4 separate regions of the Homo sapiens genome follow, and regions 1, 2 and 3 are each linked to region 4. The links are contacts of gene promoters, found by promoter capture Hi-C in blood cells and fetal thymus (Javierre and others, 2016). All regions are on one chromosome and are shown on one strand. The core of a region is centred on a gene start or on the middle of the fragment in contact, and the rest is flanking DNA. Distances in the headings are between cores, read along the strand shown.

Region 1 (3,809 bases), core at 1,014-3,513, 470 kb before region 4:
GGGTGCTGTCACTTTTTCAGAAAAGTCTATAAGGATGCAAATGGGTGAGAGGGACACTTCTCTAAATTCAGCAAATAATTAGCAAACTTCTGCCTCTTTTGGATTGATGCTATTATCTGTGATCCACAAGATGTCAATCTCCCACCCCCATCTCCTTTTTTTGTTTTTCCAGAGACAGGGTCTCACTCTGTCACCCAGGCTGGAGTGCAGTGGTGTAATCATAGCTCAATGCAACTTTGAACTCCTGGGCTGAAACGATCCTCCAGCCTCAGCCTCTCGAGAAGCTAGGACTACAGGCACACACCACCATGATGGGCTACTTTTTTTTTTTTTTTTTTTTTTTAAGAGAGATGGGGGTCTTGCTATGTTGCCCAGGCTGGCCTGGAATCTAATGGATCCTCCTGCCTCAGCCTCCCAAAGTACTGGGATTACAGGCGTGAGCCATGACATCTGGCCCACAAGATGACAATCTCATATGGTTTAGCTTAGTATTAGTAAATTGCTTCTGACACACATCACCCAGGGGTGCATGATCACCCCCAGACGGGAACAGCGGTATGAAGATACTCAATAGCAGAGTCGGTCGCTGGCAGTCTTGCATCACTAGGATGACAGTTAACGGGAAGCACTTGCAGGGCTTTCTGACTCCAGAAGAGCTGTGTCCCTGCACTTAAATGCCGCGGGCACTGCATGTCTACAGTGCCGCTGTCTGCTCTTAATGATTCATCTGTCCTCCGCGCTCATCAAGCCTCTCCATCCTTTCTGCAAGGCCGGGGTTTGGCTTTATACCCAGCTCAAGGTGCGAGGAAAAGATCGAGGCAAAGAGACAAGGTGCTAAGGCGGCCTCCTCCACCCGCTCCTGCAGGCCCACCATGCCCACCTGTTGGCCACGATGCTGGGGTAATAGGCCTTCTGGTTCTCGTCCACCTTCAGGTCACTCTGGTGGATGAAGCGCTCCTGCTCCTCGAAGGCTCGAATGACGCTGACCCCCAGCAAGGTCTCGTTGAAATGGGAATAGACCGGGGAGCGGCTGACCGACTCGAGGCGCTTCAGCTGCCGGGAGGAAGCCACGTAGAACCTCTGGGGTAGAGAACAGACGCGGGGAGTTGATGAAGGTTCCCTCCTGCCATCCTCCCAGGGCAGGGCTGTGCTGGAGAACATCTAGACGTAACCGATACCTCCAGGAGGCAAAATGTTAGAGCCGGGCTGCCCTCACAGGGGTGCCCACTCACCTGGTGAACCACAGGAATAGCACCACCAATGACAAGGACAGTGACAATAATAGCTCACGCTTATACAAAGCCCACAGCCCCAGGCATCGTTCTAAGCAGTTTTACAAACATCAGTTCATTCAATCCTCACAAAAAACCTGAGGTGCTCATTCCTATATGTGATGGGTAGACTAAGGCACAAAGAAGCTAGTTAATCTCCTCCCCAAGGTCACATGGCTAGCAAGGGGCAGAACTGGGATTCAAACCCAGGCCATCTGGGCTGCAAAGTGCTAACCTCTACCCTGTACTGCCTCTCTGAAGCCTTTCACCTCTAGGGTTTTCTGGAACCAGCAGTGTGGTTTTCAGCATAGGCTTTGAGGTCAACGAGACCTCAGTTCAAATCCTGACTCAACTACTGACTGGCAATATAAACACGACTAACACTTTACTTCTCTAAGCCTCAGTTTCCTTATCTGTAAAATGGGAACAACAAGGCTTGCTCGGCCAGGTGGGGTGGCTCATGCTTGTAATACCCGCACTTCAGGAGGCAGAGGCGGGAGATCACTTGAGGCCAGGAGTCTGAGACCAGCCCAGGCACATGGCAAAATGCCATCTCTACAAAAATAAAATATTATTAAGAAAACAAACGAAACAAAACAAAGCTTGCTTCACGGGGTCATTGTGAGGGTGACATGTAAGAGTTACAGTCTTACATGTGATGTGTATTTGCGTGGACACATTATTTCATAAATCATATAGATATGCATGATGTCACTAAGCACAGTGCCTGGTAATACTAGGTTGAACCACAGGAAATAGCTGTTTCTGTAGATAAGAAATAAGTATTAGCAGTTTCATATAGTTTGACCTAACAGTAAGCATTCAGTTAGCTGGTGACTATTGTTATCATTAAGTGACAGAATTCCGCCTGTTGATCACATCCCCTCAGGAGTGACTGTGTCCATGCAATGGCCGGTTCCAGCACACTCAGCCCAGCTGAGATGCCCATGAGGATAGGGTCAATCTCGTCACCCCCCTCCGATGGCCTCCCAGCGCTGTTAGAGTTGCCAACCATGCTTCTTCCCTCAACTCATCTCATCCTGTAACTCTCCCCTTCCTTCCCTGCACACAGGCCGCCTGCCTCCACCCACCATGCCCATCCCGTCCAGGCCATTCCTCATCACCCAGCAGATGGGAGCACAGATGTCACTTCCTCGGGAAGCCCTTCCCATCCTCCATGAGCACCTTCTCCGGGCTTCAGTGTCCCAGCTCCCGGGCTACGATGATACGTTTCACAAGCAGCTCCACCCACCCTCGCGGGCAGATGCTTCATCTGCTCTGCCTCCCCCAACCTGGGCATTCAGCCAGTGCCAGGCACCAAGAGCCTCCCGATAAGTCTTGTTAGATTCAGAACAAAAGCCAACCACCTTCTGCAAGCTTTGTGGAGCTGTGGATCAGAGGCTGCACCAGCCATGTGAGGACACTGCGCTCTCCTAGCCTAGGTTTTTCTCATCTACGCAAAAGGAACTGGTGAGCCCGGGGTTCCTGATTCCACAAGGTGCCTACAATTGCTTATCGACAGGAGAGCTGGGAAAACTAACAAAGGGTTGCTAGGAACTCGGCCTCCCTGCATCCTGCCCTGGGCCAGGTGTACTGGGCTGCTTTGGGGCAGAGTCCAACAAAAAGCATCAATAGCAGCAGGTGGCTTTTACAAGGCCTCTGTGGTTGGCAGCTTCTTCCTGGGTGGCGGCACGGGCGTTAATTGCAACCCACAGATGGAGAGTCTTCTGGGGCCCCAGAAGCTATGTAAGTGAACCCAGGTACCGCACAACCCCACGCAGTCTCAGAATAGCTGTTCTGCCAATTCCTGGAATGTGGATCAGATATAATTTCTTCTCCAGCTGTTCCCACCGCCTCCCATGAAATCCAGACCCCTCTGCATGGCTGAAGGCCCAGGTGATCTGCCCCATCTTACCCTGGACCACATCTCCTTCCTCTCTTACCAGCTTGCTTTCTGAACAATCCAGATGCAAATCGCTCTCAAGTGTGTTACCTGTTCACTTTCCTCCACTTGCCACTGCCTCTGAACCTTACTTACTGGAAAAATCTAACCTGAGATGAATATTTGTTCAGGAATGATCTTATTTTATTTTTTAAGACAGTCTCGCTCTGTCACCCTGGCTGGAGTGCAGTGGCACAATCTTGGCTCATTGCAACCTCTGCCTCCCAGGTTCAAGCAATTCTCCTGCCTTAGCCTCCTAAGTAGCTGGAATTGCAGGCGCCCACCACCGTGCCTGGCTAATTTTTCTATTTTTAGTAGAGATGGGGTTTCACCATGTTGGCCAGGCTGGTCTCAAACTCCTGACCTCAGGTGATCCACCTGCCCTGCCGATCTGATGTTTTTTTCAGACAACTCGCCCTGTCACCAAGGCTGAAGTGCACTGGCACAATGTCAGCTCACTGCAACCTCCGCCTCCGAGGCTCAAGTGACCCTTCCATCTCAGCCTCCCAAGCAGGTGGGACTACAGGTTCACGCCACCACACCCAGCTAATTTTTGTATTTTCTGTAGAGACCAGGTTTTCCCATGTTGCTCAGGC
Region 2 (3,749 bases), core at 676-3,175, 310 kb before region 4:
CTCCAGGCTAGATTTTTATGAGATGGGCTCTGCAGTTCCTTTGAGTTAAACTCCTCAATACTTTAACCACACCATGATCTTCCTCAAGGCCTATGCACATTCTCTTCCCACTCTGGGACTCCCTTCCCCCACATCCTTGCATGGCCAGCTTTGCCACTGAGCTCTGGGGTCAAACCTCACCGCCTCCGAAAGGCCTTCTGTGGACATCCCTCCGTAGTAGTTTGCACCTCACCCAGTTTTTCCCGGTTCAAGTCTTTGCAGCACTTGCCAGCATCTGAAATCATTTCCGTCACCCTCAGTGTAAACCCCATGAGAACATGGGCCTGGTCTGTCCTGTTCACTGTTGTATCCTCAGTGCCTAGAGCAGCAGCAGCACATAGTAGCTGCTCAATTAATAATGACTGAATAAATGAATGAATGAAAAGCAGTGTGGGAAGAACAATACAATGAACCCAGGGGTATCAAAGACCACACGAGGCTGGGCGTGGTGGCTCACACCTGTAATCCCAGCACTCTGGGAGACTGCTTGAGCTCAAGAGTTCAAGACCAAACTGGGCAACATAGTGAAACCCCATCTCTACAAAAAAAAATACAAAAATTAGCCGGGTGTGCTGGTGCATGCCTGTAGTCCCAGCTACTTGGGAGGGTGAGTTGGGAGGGTCACTTGGCCTGGGAGGTCGAGACTGCAGTGCAGTGGTACAATCAGCTAGGGCGACAGAACAAGACTCCATCCATCAATCAGTCAAACACCACACAAATTTCTTGTACTGGGAAGACTTAGACATCACACATATTCTCCAAACAAGTATTACCTAGGAGGCCAGTAAAAGGTACACTGAGGTTCCTCAGAGAGAAAACTCACAGAGAGGAAGATAAAAGCTCCATAAAAATCTCAATTACTACTTGAGGGTTACAGGATGCTAGCCTAGAGCCTCCCTCCCTAGACAGGTTTCTCAGAGAGAAAACTCACAGAGAGGAAGAGAAAACCTCCATAAAAATCTCAATTCCTGAGGGTTACAGGATGCTAGCCTAGGGGCACCCTCCCTGGTCATTAACACCCACTTTCCAGAACCTGGCAACCTCCCCAGGAGATGAATCCCACAGTTAAACTAAGGGGACACTTAAGTGGAATCTCAACTTTGTAATCGTCCACTTCTCCTGGGGCACTTTAAAATGAAGGAGTAGAGCTTCAAAGCTGATCTCTCAAGAAAGCCATTTTCGGCTGGGCATGGTGGCTCACGCCTGTAATCCCAGCACTTTGGGAGGCCGAGGCAGGAGGATCGCTTGAGCCCAGGAGTTTGAGACAAGCCTGGGCAACATGGTGAGACCCTGACTCTACAAAAAATACAAAAATTAGCCGGGTATGGTGGTGTGCACCTCTGGTCCCAGCTACCTGGGAGGCTAAGGTGGGAAGATAGCTTCAGCCCAGGAGGTCGAGGCTGCAGTGAGCTATGATTGTGCCACTGCACTCCAGCCTGGGTGACAGAGGGAGACCCTGTCTCAAAAGAAAAAAGAAAGAAAAAGAAAAAGAAAGCCATTTTTGTTTTCCCAGGGGAGAATGAACTGTCACAACTCCAACTGGGAAAATGGAAAAAGGTAAAAAGACACAGCCCTCAGTAAAAAAGAAACTGCCGCAAGTTTCTTCTCTAGCTAATTGGAGTTTAACCTCCTTAACGTCTCATTAAGCTTCTCCAAGGCAACCCCAGTAAGCCAATTACACTAGAATTTCGACAGCCCACAACCTCCTAGGGAAATGCAGGATGAGGAGGAAGGTCTTGCTCCATGTTTCTCCCCCATATTCCTCCACACCAGTGGCTGTGTGATTTCACACCCCAGGGAACATATGGAAACATCTAGAGGCATTTTCGGTTGTCACAACAAGAGGAGGTGCTACCAGCATCTACTAGGGGGTAGAGGCCAGGTTTGGGGCTAAGACTACGCTGCACAGAACAGCAACCAGGCCACAAAGAATGATGTGGCCTACATGTCAACGGGGCCGACACTGAGCAACTGTGCTCCATGTCCCCACCCGCAAAATACAGCTTCCTCAAAGGCCCCGTTCAACCATTCAGCCTCTAAGAGGTAAGTGCAGGTCCCCAGCACCACTCCACCCACAGGGATGCTGCCCTATCCCAGTTTTCTTGCTAAGCGGGGGGAAGCTTGCCTCAGGATGTCTGGCCATTAATTAATTTTGGCAAAATGTTTGGGCAAGTTTTCACGAGCTAGAGTTGTACTGACCACACTAAGAGCTGATCATCAAAGCTAGGCCTTACTTCGCCATGAAAATCTGAAGCCAACATACCAATCAGATGCTAACTTCAAGGTTGGCCTGCAAAGCAGGAGATGCCAACTCAGATACCAACAGGTGCCAAAGTGGGTTCCATCCATGCAAGAAGCAGACCAGGTGTGAGGAAGCACAATTTTAAAAAGGCAACAGGCCAGGCACGGTGGCTCATGCCTGTAATCCCAGCACTTTGGGAGGCTGAGGAACTCAAGTGATCCACTTGAGTTCAGGAATTCAAGACCAGCCTGGCCAATATGGAGAAACCCCATCTCTACTAAAAATACAAAAATAAGCCGAGTGTGGTGGTGCGGGCCTGTAATCCCAGCTACTCGGGAAGCTGAGGCAGCAGAATCACTGGAACCCGGGAGGCAGAGGTTGCAGTGAGCCGAGATTCCACTACTGCACTCCAGCCTGGGTGACAGAGCGAGACTTCGTCTCAAAAAAATAATATAAAATAAAACAAAGGCAACAAACATTTGGCCTTAAAATTAAAGCAACAACAGGGAGGGGTGGGGACTGCGGCAAACTGGAGCAACTCAGAAACGGACAGCCTCAGCGGACCGCTACCATGTATAAATGTGGGCCTGGGGCTAGCAGAACTTCTGATTTTTCAAGGGAAGCCAGAAATCCAGATGTTTCTGTGAAATCTGCCAATGAATAAACATTGTAGGGCGGGCCACAGTGGCTCATGCCTGTAATCCCAGCACTTTAGGAGGCCGAGGCGGGCGGATCACGAGGTCAAGAGATCGAGGCCATGCTGGCCAACATACTGGAAACCCCGTTTCTATCAAAAACACAAAAATTAGCTGGATGTGGTGGCGTGCCCCTGTAGTCCCAGCTACTGGGGAGGCTGAGGCAGAATTGCTTGAACCCAGGAGGCAGAGGTTGCAGTGAGCCAAGATCGTGCCACTGCACTCCAGCCTGGCAACAGAGCAAGACTCCGTCTCAAATAAATAAATAAATAAAATTGGAAATCACAGTCATTCCTATAATTAAAATCAAGCCAAACCAGCACAGTGGTGAGCTATATCTAACCCCTAGCTTGGAACTCATACCTCAAACACTCAAATTCTAATGTTGATTGAGCCCCCACTGTGTGTGAGACACTGAGTCCTGGGAAAAGAGGGGTGGACAAAACCCTGTTCTGACCTTTCCAAGATGAAATAGAAGCTGTTCTGCCAAGCACGGTGGCTCACACCTATAATCCCAGCACTTTGGGAGGCCAAGGCAGGCAGATCGCCTGAGTTCAGGAGTTCACCACCAACCTGAGCAACATGGCAAAACCCTATCTCTACAAAAAAAAAAAAAAAAAAAATTAGCTGGGCATGGTGGTGTGTGCCTGTAGTCCCAGCTACCTGGGGAGCTGAAGTGGGAGAATTGCTTGAGCTCAGGAGGTTGAGGCTGCAGTGAGCTGAGGTCGCGCCACTGCACTCCAGCCTGGGTGACAGAGCAAGACCCTGTCTCA
Region 3 (4,048 bases), core at 800-3,299, 490 kb before region 4:
AAGTGAGGCACAGAGGCTGAGTGACTTCCCCAGGGTCACAAGAACAGCAAATGACAAGAGCAGGACTCAAGCCAGGGTCTGTCCAACCCCAAAACCTGGGCTCCGTCCACCTTGCGGCTGTCCCGCCTTCCCACTAAACCCCATCTGACTAGTGATCTCTACAACTTGCCCTTTCTGGCAACAGCTCCCACTAGAGGCGACTTGTTGTCAAAAGGAAAGAACAGAAACAGGAAGATGCCACATCCTGACCCTGCAGAGGACATGGCTGGAACCCTCGCCGAGGCCCCAAAGGAAAGGGAACCATTCTTTAGAAAGAAATAAAATATATAGATATATATATATTTTTTTACTGCAAATGTTCGCATTTCCAGTGTAAGTCATTACAAAAGGATCCCCCAAAACTTAGTTTATCTAATGTGAAAGAATGGTATAACTTACAAAAAATAAATATATGCGTTTTCGCCTAAAAGAAAGATGCTCTCTGGGTTTGAAGTCGGCGGCGTAATTCTTAGCAAGTCTGAGTCTTGGGGCAGCCTCAGCTCTGGCTGCCTTCCGGATTCCACTTTGGGCTCTAACGAGACACCTTAAAGAACAGGCTTTAAAAGATGCTGCTTCCCTGTTTTCTTCCAGGAACACAGAGACCAACACGGTTTCAAACACAGGGCGAGCTTCTCACTATTTCCTGGGAATGTTACTTCTCAGCCCAACACTTCTATTCCCAAGAAGTTCAAGTTTTGAGACTGTTTTTCTCCCCGGAACAGTACTTAAAAAAAAAAAATCATTGATATTCAAAGATGGGTTCTTTTCGTGTCCTGGAAGAGCATCAGTAACTAAATATCAAGTTCTCCACAATGCTGCCCCCCCTGGGGGGCTAACCGGATGCCAAGGGAGAGAATTAACATCTAAAAACAAGGAAAAGACTCAAGGGGACATTTTTTTGGTACCCACTGGTAATACTTGGGAGGTATTTCGTGTTCTTTACTTTGAAAGCTTCATAACCATGAGCAGGTACCATGAGAGGGAAAGAAAAGAGGTGGTAAGAAAAAAGAACAAAATCAATCAACACTGTAAGCAACCAACACTGCTTTGGGCCAGGCCCCTAACACATTTTTCTGCTAGGACTGGCATAGTACCTTCCAGCTGGTTGCTCACTCTCAGTCTCTATTTCTAGTCAAGGTCAAATTCCCATGAGGCCATCTCCTTAATATTTACCCCACATCAATCATGGTGGGAACAGTAATAACAGCATTGATTGTTCTTACAATGTTGAACAAAAGAAAAAAGGGAAAGCCTGGAGTCGGGGTGGGTGGGGAGGGAAGCCCCAGGTGGAACGTCGGCCCTGAGACAATCCCCTGGCCCTACAGTTCCAGGTCCAGGTTAGCCGTTAGTCCAACCAGGTCCCTTCCAGGAGGACAGGCGTGGGAGTGCAGAGGCTGCCTCTGGCCCAAAACGAGAACTGGTAGAGCTGGCGCTGAGATGCTGGTTCCCAGCTTTTGAGTGCCTGGAAGACCAGATGTTGGTAAGAGGACCATCCAGGGCCCTGGGACACTGCCAAGGGGAGAAAATGATTTTCTCCAGGCCCCTCAACCACAAAACTGCAGCCCCAAGGAAATGAAGCGTTCCTGGTAGACCCAGACAAGGATGTTAGAGGTGATGGGAGCCAGAAGCATCTCAAAGACTTGCAGTCCACAGACTTCGGCTGGAGAGATCCGAGGCAGTAGGCTGAATTTGGTCACTAGGATCTTCTATACAACCAATTCCTCCAGAAGTCTGGCTGCCAAAACTCCTCCGTGGGAAGCACCAGGAAACCACTTGCATTCCTGGGGGCGTGAGGCTGTGTGTCTGTCTCAGGGCACCAGGGGCAGGGTGTGCGTGTTTTGGGTGGTTCGCATCTCTGTCTCTCCTGGGTCTTCACAGCCAGTTCCAGGCAGGGGACCGGATGGCGGTGGCTGCTGCTTTGAATATGTTTTGGTTGTCTGGGTTTGGTTTTTATGTTTTGGTTTCAGTGTGGGAGGCTTGGTTTACCAGGGGTACTGACTCCTCCCTGGGCGCTGGCATATAGGCCCTGCAGTTCTGACCAGATATGCCAGCTCTGGGGCTCACACCAAGCCGGCGTCTTTGGCCATGCTGTAGAAAAGACCTCTCTGCTGCAGGAGGTCCGATGGGGCGCCGTACTCCTGGATTTCTCCTTTGTCCAAGACGATCACCCTGAGGGAGAGGGGATACAGACATGAGGGGAAGGGGAGGGGTGAGCACCTCGTGCCCCTGGGACAACTGACCTGGGCAAGTCACTGCTTCGGGTCAGGCCCCTAACACTTTTTGCTAGGACTGGTGCAGTACCTTCCAGCTGGTTGCTCACCCTCAATCCCTATTTCTAGTCAATGTCAGATTCCCATGAGGCCAGCTCCTTAATATCTACCCCACATCAATCATGGTGTGAATGGTATTAACAGTGTTGACTGTTCACATTCACTGTTCCATTACATTCAGAGTAAAATAAAAAGATCTTACCACAGTCTACAATAACGATTGGCAACATTTTTCTGAAAAAGGCCAGATAGTAAATACTTGAGGCTCTGCAGGCCATATGCTTTCTGTTACAACTACGCATCTCTGCTGTATTTATAGTGTGAAAGCTGCCAGAGACAACAGGAAAATGAACAGATGTGGCTGCGTGCCAATAAAACTTTATTCATAAAAACACGCAGGGGGCCAGATCTGTGGCCTGTGGGCCATAGTTGGCTGACCCCTAATATTTTAGGTCCTGTAAGATTTGACACTGCCCACTTCTGTCCTCATTTCTATGTCCTATATTTCAAAAGCACCAACTCAGCATCTGCCACTTAGTAGGTGGTACTCAGTGAACTAGAAACATCATGTCAGCTGGGTGCAGAGACTCACGCCTATAATCCCAGCACTTTGGAAGGCTGAGGCAGGAGGATCACTTGAGGCCGCAGTGAGCTGTGATCCCACCACTGCACTCCAGCCTGGGCGACAGGGTGAGACCCTGTCTCAAAAATATATAAAATAAAATAGAAACTCATGTCACTTCCCTGCTTAAAACCTTCCAATGGCTTTATAGGGCTCTTAGAGTAAGTTCCAAGCTTCTCACCGTGGTTACATGGTGCTCTAAGATCCAGCCCCTGCCTACCTTTCTGGCCTAATCTCCTGCCCCTGTCCACTCAATTCCAACCTCTAGGTACATGGCCTCCTCATGCTAGCCTTCAAATTCATTAAGCGCATTCATTTTTACATTCGGCTGTACCGGCTGCCTAGAATGTTCTTCCTTTAGATCCAAGGTTGGCAAACTGTGGCCTGCAGGCCAAATCTGACCCCTTGCCTGTTTTTATGAATAAAGTTTTATTGGAACATAGCCATGCTCATTCATTCGTGCACTATCTATGACTGCTTTCACACGGCAACACTGGAGTCAAGTGGCTGAGAGGCCATGTGGCCCACAAAGCTGAAACTACCCCGGCCCTTAAGAACAAGGTTGCAGATCGCTGTCCCAGATCTTCTCAAGGCTGACTCCTTTTCATTGTTCAGGTCTCAGCTAAAATGTCACCTCTTCAGAGATGACCCACACAAAACTCAAAACCCCCCAGGACCCTGGCACTATGGCAGCATTCTGACTTTTGTGGTCCCCGGCACTGATGCCTACGGAGGTGGCTTTCTCCACACAAAATGCTAGAAATTCTATTTTATGACTGTGTTAGTATAAATAAAATCCAGGTTGGATTATATTCTTTTTTTTTTTTTTTTTTTTTTTGAGATGGAGTCTCACTCTGTTGCCCAGGCTGGACTGCAGTGGCACAATCTCAGCTCACTGCAACCTCCACCTCCCAGGTTCAAGCAATTCTCCTTCCTCAGCCTCCCAAGTACCTGGGATTATGGGCACGCACCACCACACTTGGCTACTTTTTGTATTTTTAATGGTGACAGGGTCTCACCGTGTTGGCCAAGCTGGTCTCAAACTATCGACCTCAGGTGATCTGCCTGCCTCGGCCTCCCAAAGTGCTGGGATTACAGCCGTGAGCCACCGCACCTG
Region 4 (4,024 bases), core at 683-3,182:
CCTGTAATCCCAACACTTTGGGAGGCTGAGGTGGGCAGATCACGAGGTCAGAAGTTTGAGACCAGCCTGGCCAATATGGTGAAACCCCATCTCTACTAAGAATTAGCCGGGCATGGTGGCACGCACCTGTAATCCCAGCTACTCAGGAGGGTGAGGCAGAAGAATCACTTGAACCCGGAGGACTGAGGTTGCAGTGAGTCGAGATCATGCCACTGCACTCCAGCCTGGACAAGAACAAGACTCCGTCTCAAAATAAATAAATAAATAAATAATAAATAACACACTTTGGAAACAAAAATAAGTCAAGTTAATAAACTGTTATCCAACATGGGATAAAATATATGAATCACAGGCCCCTGAGACTTCAGCGGCACAGATCATCTGCATTTAATCCTACACAAAACACACACTAAGAGGAAAGGCTCAAAATGGGTTGTAGGCCGGCACGGTGGCTCACGCCTGTAATCCCAGCACTTTGGGAGGCCGAGGGGGCAGATCACGAGGTCAGGAAATCGAGACCATCCTGGCTAACACGGTGAAACCCCATCTCTACTAAAAATACAAAAAATTAGCCAGGCGTGGTGGCACGCACCTGTAGTCCCAGCTACTCCGGAGGCTGAGGCAGGAGAATCGCTTGAACCCGGGAAGCGGAGGTTGCAGTGAGCCAAAATCGCACCACTGCACTCCAACCTGGGCGAGAGTGAGACTCTGTCTCAAAAACAAAAACAAAAAAAAAAAAAAAAAAACGGGTTGTATACCAACGAGGTGATGGAGGCTGGGGTGGTCGGGTAACAAGAGGCTTTAGGAGTAGCTGGGATCTAATTAATCTTCAAAACACCCGACCCATGTCCTAAAATGCCATCCTATGCTAGAATACACTATAACAAAACTAAAAATGATGAACCTGCCTAGGTCGTGCTGCAAAGGCCTTTTCTTTAGAAAGTTAAAAGGGGCCTGAGGCTCAAAGTAGAAATTAAGAGGCACAACCTGGTAGTAACCACGGACAAAGCAATCAAGGAAGCTCAGGCCCTCAGGAGGCAGAAAGCCTGAGATGGCTCGGAGAAGATAAAGTCGCCTCCCCAAAAGCGGTGTCAAGGTGACAGCGGGGTTTCCCAGGACCTCAGAGACTCAGGTCCTCAGTGAGCCCAGCCATCACTCAAGCTGCGGAATAAGCATTTTCGTCCTTTACCCAATCCCTCCCCAAAGTGCTGTCAGAAGAAACCTGAACCGTCCTGCGGCAGAGACGGGAGCAAAGCGGAGAGCAGACTGCCCCAAACGTGTTCCCGGAGGGAGGGAGCAGGGTGGGTTTTTGGAAAGAGGCCTGCAGGGGCGGGACAGTGGGTGTGAGGGCAGGGGCAACGCTGCAATCGAGGGGTCTGGGGTCGCAGAGAAGCGGGTGGCAGGATGGAGGAATAGGAGAGAGAGAGAAAAGAAACGAGGGTCATCTAGGAGAGGAGTATGGGGAGGAAGGAAGAGGAGAAAGAGGATGGAGCCTGGCAGCGGGGTTTGGGGACCGGCAAGGCTTAACCACCCAGGAAGTCCCGGAAGGAGAAGAGGGCAACGGGGTGGGAGAGAGACCAACGCAGAAAGAGAAACAAAGTTGCCAAGGGCGAGGGGCCAGCGCGAGGAACGCACCGGTGGCAAGGCACTCAGTGCCTAACTTTTTAGGACGGGAGGCTCCAGGGAGGCGGGATTTTGGAGCCCAGGGACCGGGGGAGTCCAGGCGGCCGGGAAGCGACGCGCAAGCGAGGGGCGTAGGGGTCCCTGCCAGGCGGTGGCCCGGGGTCCCGGGATCCTGGGGCGGGGCAGAGGAGCTTTTCAGCCGCGGTGGAGGTCCCCGGACAGCCACCCCGACCCCAGCCCCGCGCAGCGCCTCACTTACCCGAGCAGGGGCGGCGAGGCCAACGCGGCGGCGGCGGCAGAGGCGGCTGCGAAGGGCGGTGCGGCCCCGGCCCTCCGGACCCCGCCCCCGCCCCGGAGCCTGCGGTCGGCGCCTCCCATTGGCTGCTGCTCTACGGTACCGCGTCCGCCTCGGCCAATCAGCGCAGAGCAGCGTCGTTTGGAAACTTTTTTCCCAGGCCGGGCGCGGCGCGGCCAAGCGGCGAAGGCTCCTGGCCGGAGGGGGTTTGAGAGGCGCCGGCTGCCGGGCGCTGGGCTGCGGCGGGCTGGCGGGCATTGGAGATGCTGCAGAACGCTGCCTGGACACCCGGGAAACGGGTTTGGGCTTGCGGGCCGCGCATTTCAGGAAAATACGCCGGCCTCTCCTTCACTTCGATTGCATTTTCCCATTCTTGCACTTTCTCCAAATCAGAAGGAAAGACAAAGATTCAGGCCCACTGAAGCTAGCAGTGCCCCGTGCCCTTCCTACTCCTTTACACCAAAAGTAGAATCTTCAGCATCATTATCTTCTCCAGAAGCAGGAGAACGTAGTGCACCAGAATTTGGTCATAAACTTGGCTTTGAGTCCTAGTCCTGCCCCTTACTAACTGTGTGGTCTTGGGAAAGTTGTTTAGCCTCTATGACTCCGTTTCCCCATCTATAAAACGCCATTATGGGTCTGGCGCGGTGGTCACGCCTGTAATCCCAGCACTTTGGGAGGCCAAGGCGGGTGGATCACGAGGTCAGGAGTTCAAGACCAGCCTGGCACATGGTGAAACCCCGTCTCTACTAAAGATACAAAAAATTAGCCGGATGTGGTGGCACGCACCTGTAATCCCAGCTACTCAGGAGGCTGAGGCAGGAGAATCACGGGAAACCGGGAGGTGGCGGTTGCAGTGAGCCGAGATCACACCACTGCACTCTAGCCTAGGCGACAGGGCAAGACTCCGTCTTAAAGAACAGACAAACAAACAAACGACATTATGCAGAGGACTAAATGACTTAACAGCATTTGTAAAAACGTTTAGAACAGAAATTTGAACTTAGTAAGTACAATATATGTATTTGTTAAATGATCTTGATTTTGTTTATTTATTTATTTTGAGATGAAATCTCCCTCTGTCTCCCAGGCTGGAATGCAGTGGCGTGATCTCCACTCACTGCAACCTCTGCCTTCTGAGTTCAAGCAATTCTCCTGCTTCAGCCTCCCGAGTAGCTGGGATCACAGGCCCGCATCACCACACCCGGCTAATTTTTATATTTTTAGTAGAGACGGGGTTTCACCATGTTGGCCAGGCTGCTCTCGAATCCCTGTCCTCAGGTGATCCACCCACCTCGGCCTCCCAAAGTCCTGGGATTACAGGCGTGAGCCACCACACACTGCCTGAAGATCGTGATTTTTAAATGGCTGTGTGTGCCAGGCACAATTCTCACAGCAACCCTAATTGTTCACTAACAAATTAAAATTAAAAAATAATTTTTTTCTTTTCGAGACAGAGTTTCCCTCTTGTTGCCCAGGCTGGCGTGCAATGGTGCGATCTCGGCTCACTGCAACCTCTGCCTCCCAGATTCAAGCGATTTTCTTGTCTTAGTCTCCCTAGTAGCTGGGATTACAGGCGCCCACCATTACGCCCAGCTAATTTTTTGTATTTTTAGTAGAGACACGGTTTCACTGTGTTGGCCAGGCTGGTCTCGAACTCCTGACCTCAAGCAATACACCTCAGTCTCCCAAAGTGCTGGGATTACAGGCGTGAGCCATGTAACTCAGAAGGCAGAGGTTGCGGTGAGTGGAGATCACGCCACTGCATTCCAGCCTGGGAGACAGAGGGAGACTTCATCTCAAAATAAATAAATAAATAAAATCAAGCCACCATGCTTGGCTGGAATTTCTTTTTTTCTTTATTTTCTTCTAAAACATCCTGTCATAACATGTTCATTAACAAATACCGAACATTCTGGTTAGTGGGTACAAAAATAGAGTTAGAATGAATAAGATCTAGTATTTGGGAGCACAGCAGGGTGACTACAGTCCACAACAATGTATTGTACATTTTAAAATAACTAAAGGAGTATAATTGGAGTGCTTGTAACACAAAGAAAGGATAAATGCTTGAGGTCATGGACACCCATTTACCCTGATGTGATT

What was found. Contacts are between HindIII fragments. The CHiCAGO score rates a contact against its expected background, and 5 or more counts as called.
Region 1: a fragment that was not itself captured here is called in contact with the fragment with the promoter of NDE1 in region 4 in 7 of 17 cell types (erythroblasts, fetal thymus, total CD8 T cells and 4 more); the score reaches 9.7 in erythroblasts.
Region 2: a contact is called between a fragment that was not itself captured here and the fragment with the promoter of NDE1 in region 4, in 1 of 17 cell types (naive CD4 T cells). The highest score is 5.9, in naive CD4 T cells.
Region 3: a fragment that was not itself captured here is called in contact with the fragment with the promoter of NDE1 in region 4 in 2 of 17 cell types (erythroblasts and fetal thymus); the score reaches 5.6 in erythroblasts.

Annotation. Positions count from the first base shown.
Region 1 is chr16:16,119,246-16,123,054 of GRCh38, reverse strand. ABCC1 (ATP binding cassette subfamily C member 1 (ABCC1 blood group)) reads right to left here. Exons shown (of 31, transcript NM_004996.4): 24 at 881-1,080. Among named protein-coding and RNA genes, the nearest start is that of ABCC6, 100 kb to the left of the region's middle. The HindIII fragment of the contact is 775 bases long and covers 1,876-2,650 here.
Region 2 is chr16:15,957,097-15,960,845 of GRCh38, reverse strand. All of the region lies in intron 1 of ABCC1 (ATP binding cassette subfamily C member 1 (ABCC1 blood group)), which reads right to left. Among named protein-coding and RNA genes, the nearest start is that of ABCC1, 9.4 kb to the right of the region's middle. RefSeq lists enhancers at 1,660-2,160, 2,161-2,661. The HindIII fragment of the contact is 473 bases long and covers 1,689-2,161 here.
Region 3 is chr16:16,139,333-16,143,380 of GRCh38, reverse strand. It overlaps ABCC1 (ATP binding cassette subfamily C member 1 (ABCC1 blood group)), which reads right to left. Exons shown (of 31, transcript NM_004996.4): 31 at 328-2,208. The coding sequence ends at 2,100. Among named protein-coding and RNA genes, the nearest start is that of ABCC6, 82 kb to the left of the region's middle. The HindIII fragment of the contact is 2,114 bases long and covers 993-3,106 here.
Region 4 is chr16:15,648,153-15,652,176 of GRCh38, reverse strand. It overlaps NDE1 (nudE neurodevelopment protein 1), which reads right to left and starts at 1,932. Exons shown (of 9, transcript NM_017668.3): 1 at 1,883-1,932. RefSeq lists enhancers at 1,230-1,729, 1,730-2,231. The HindIII fragment of the contact is 10,572 bases long and covers 1-4,024 here.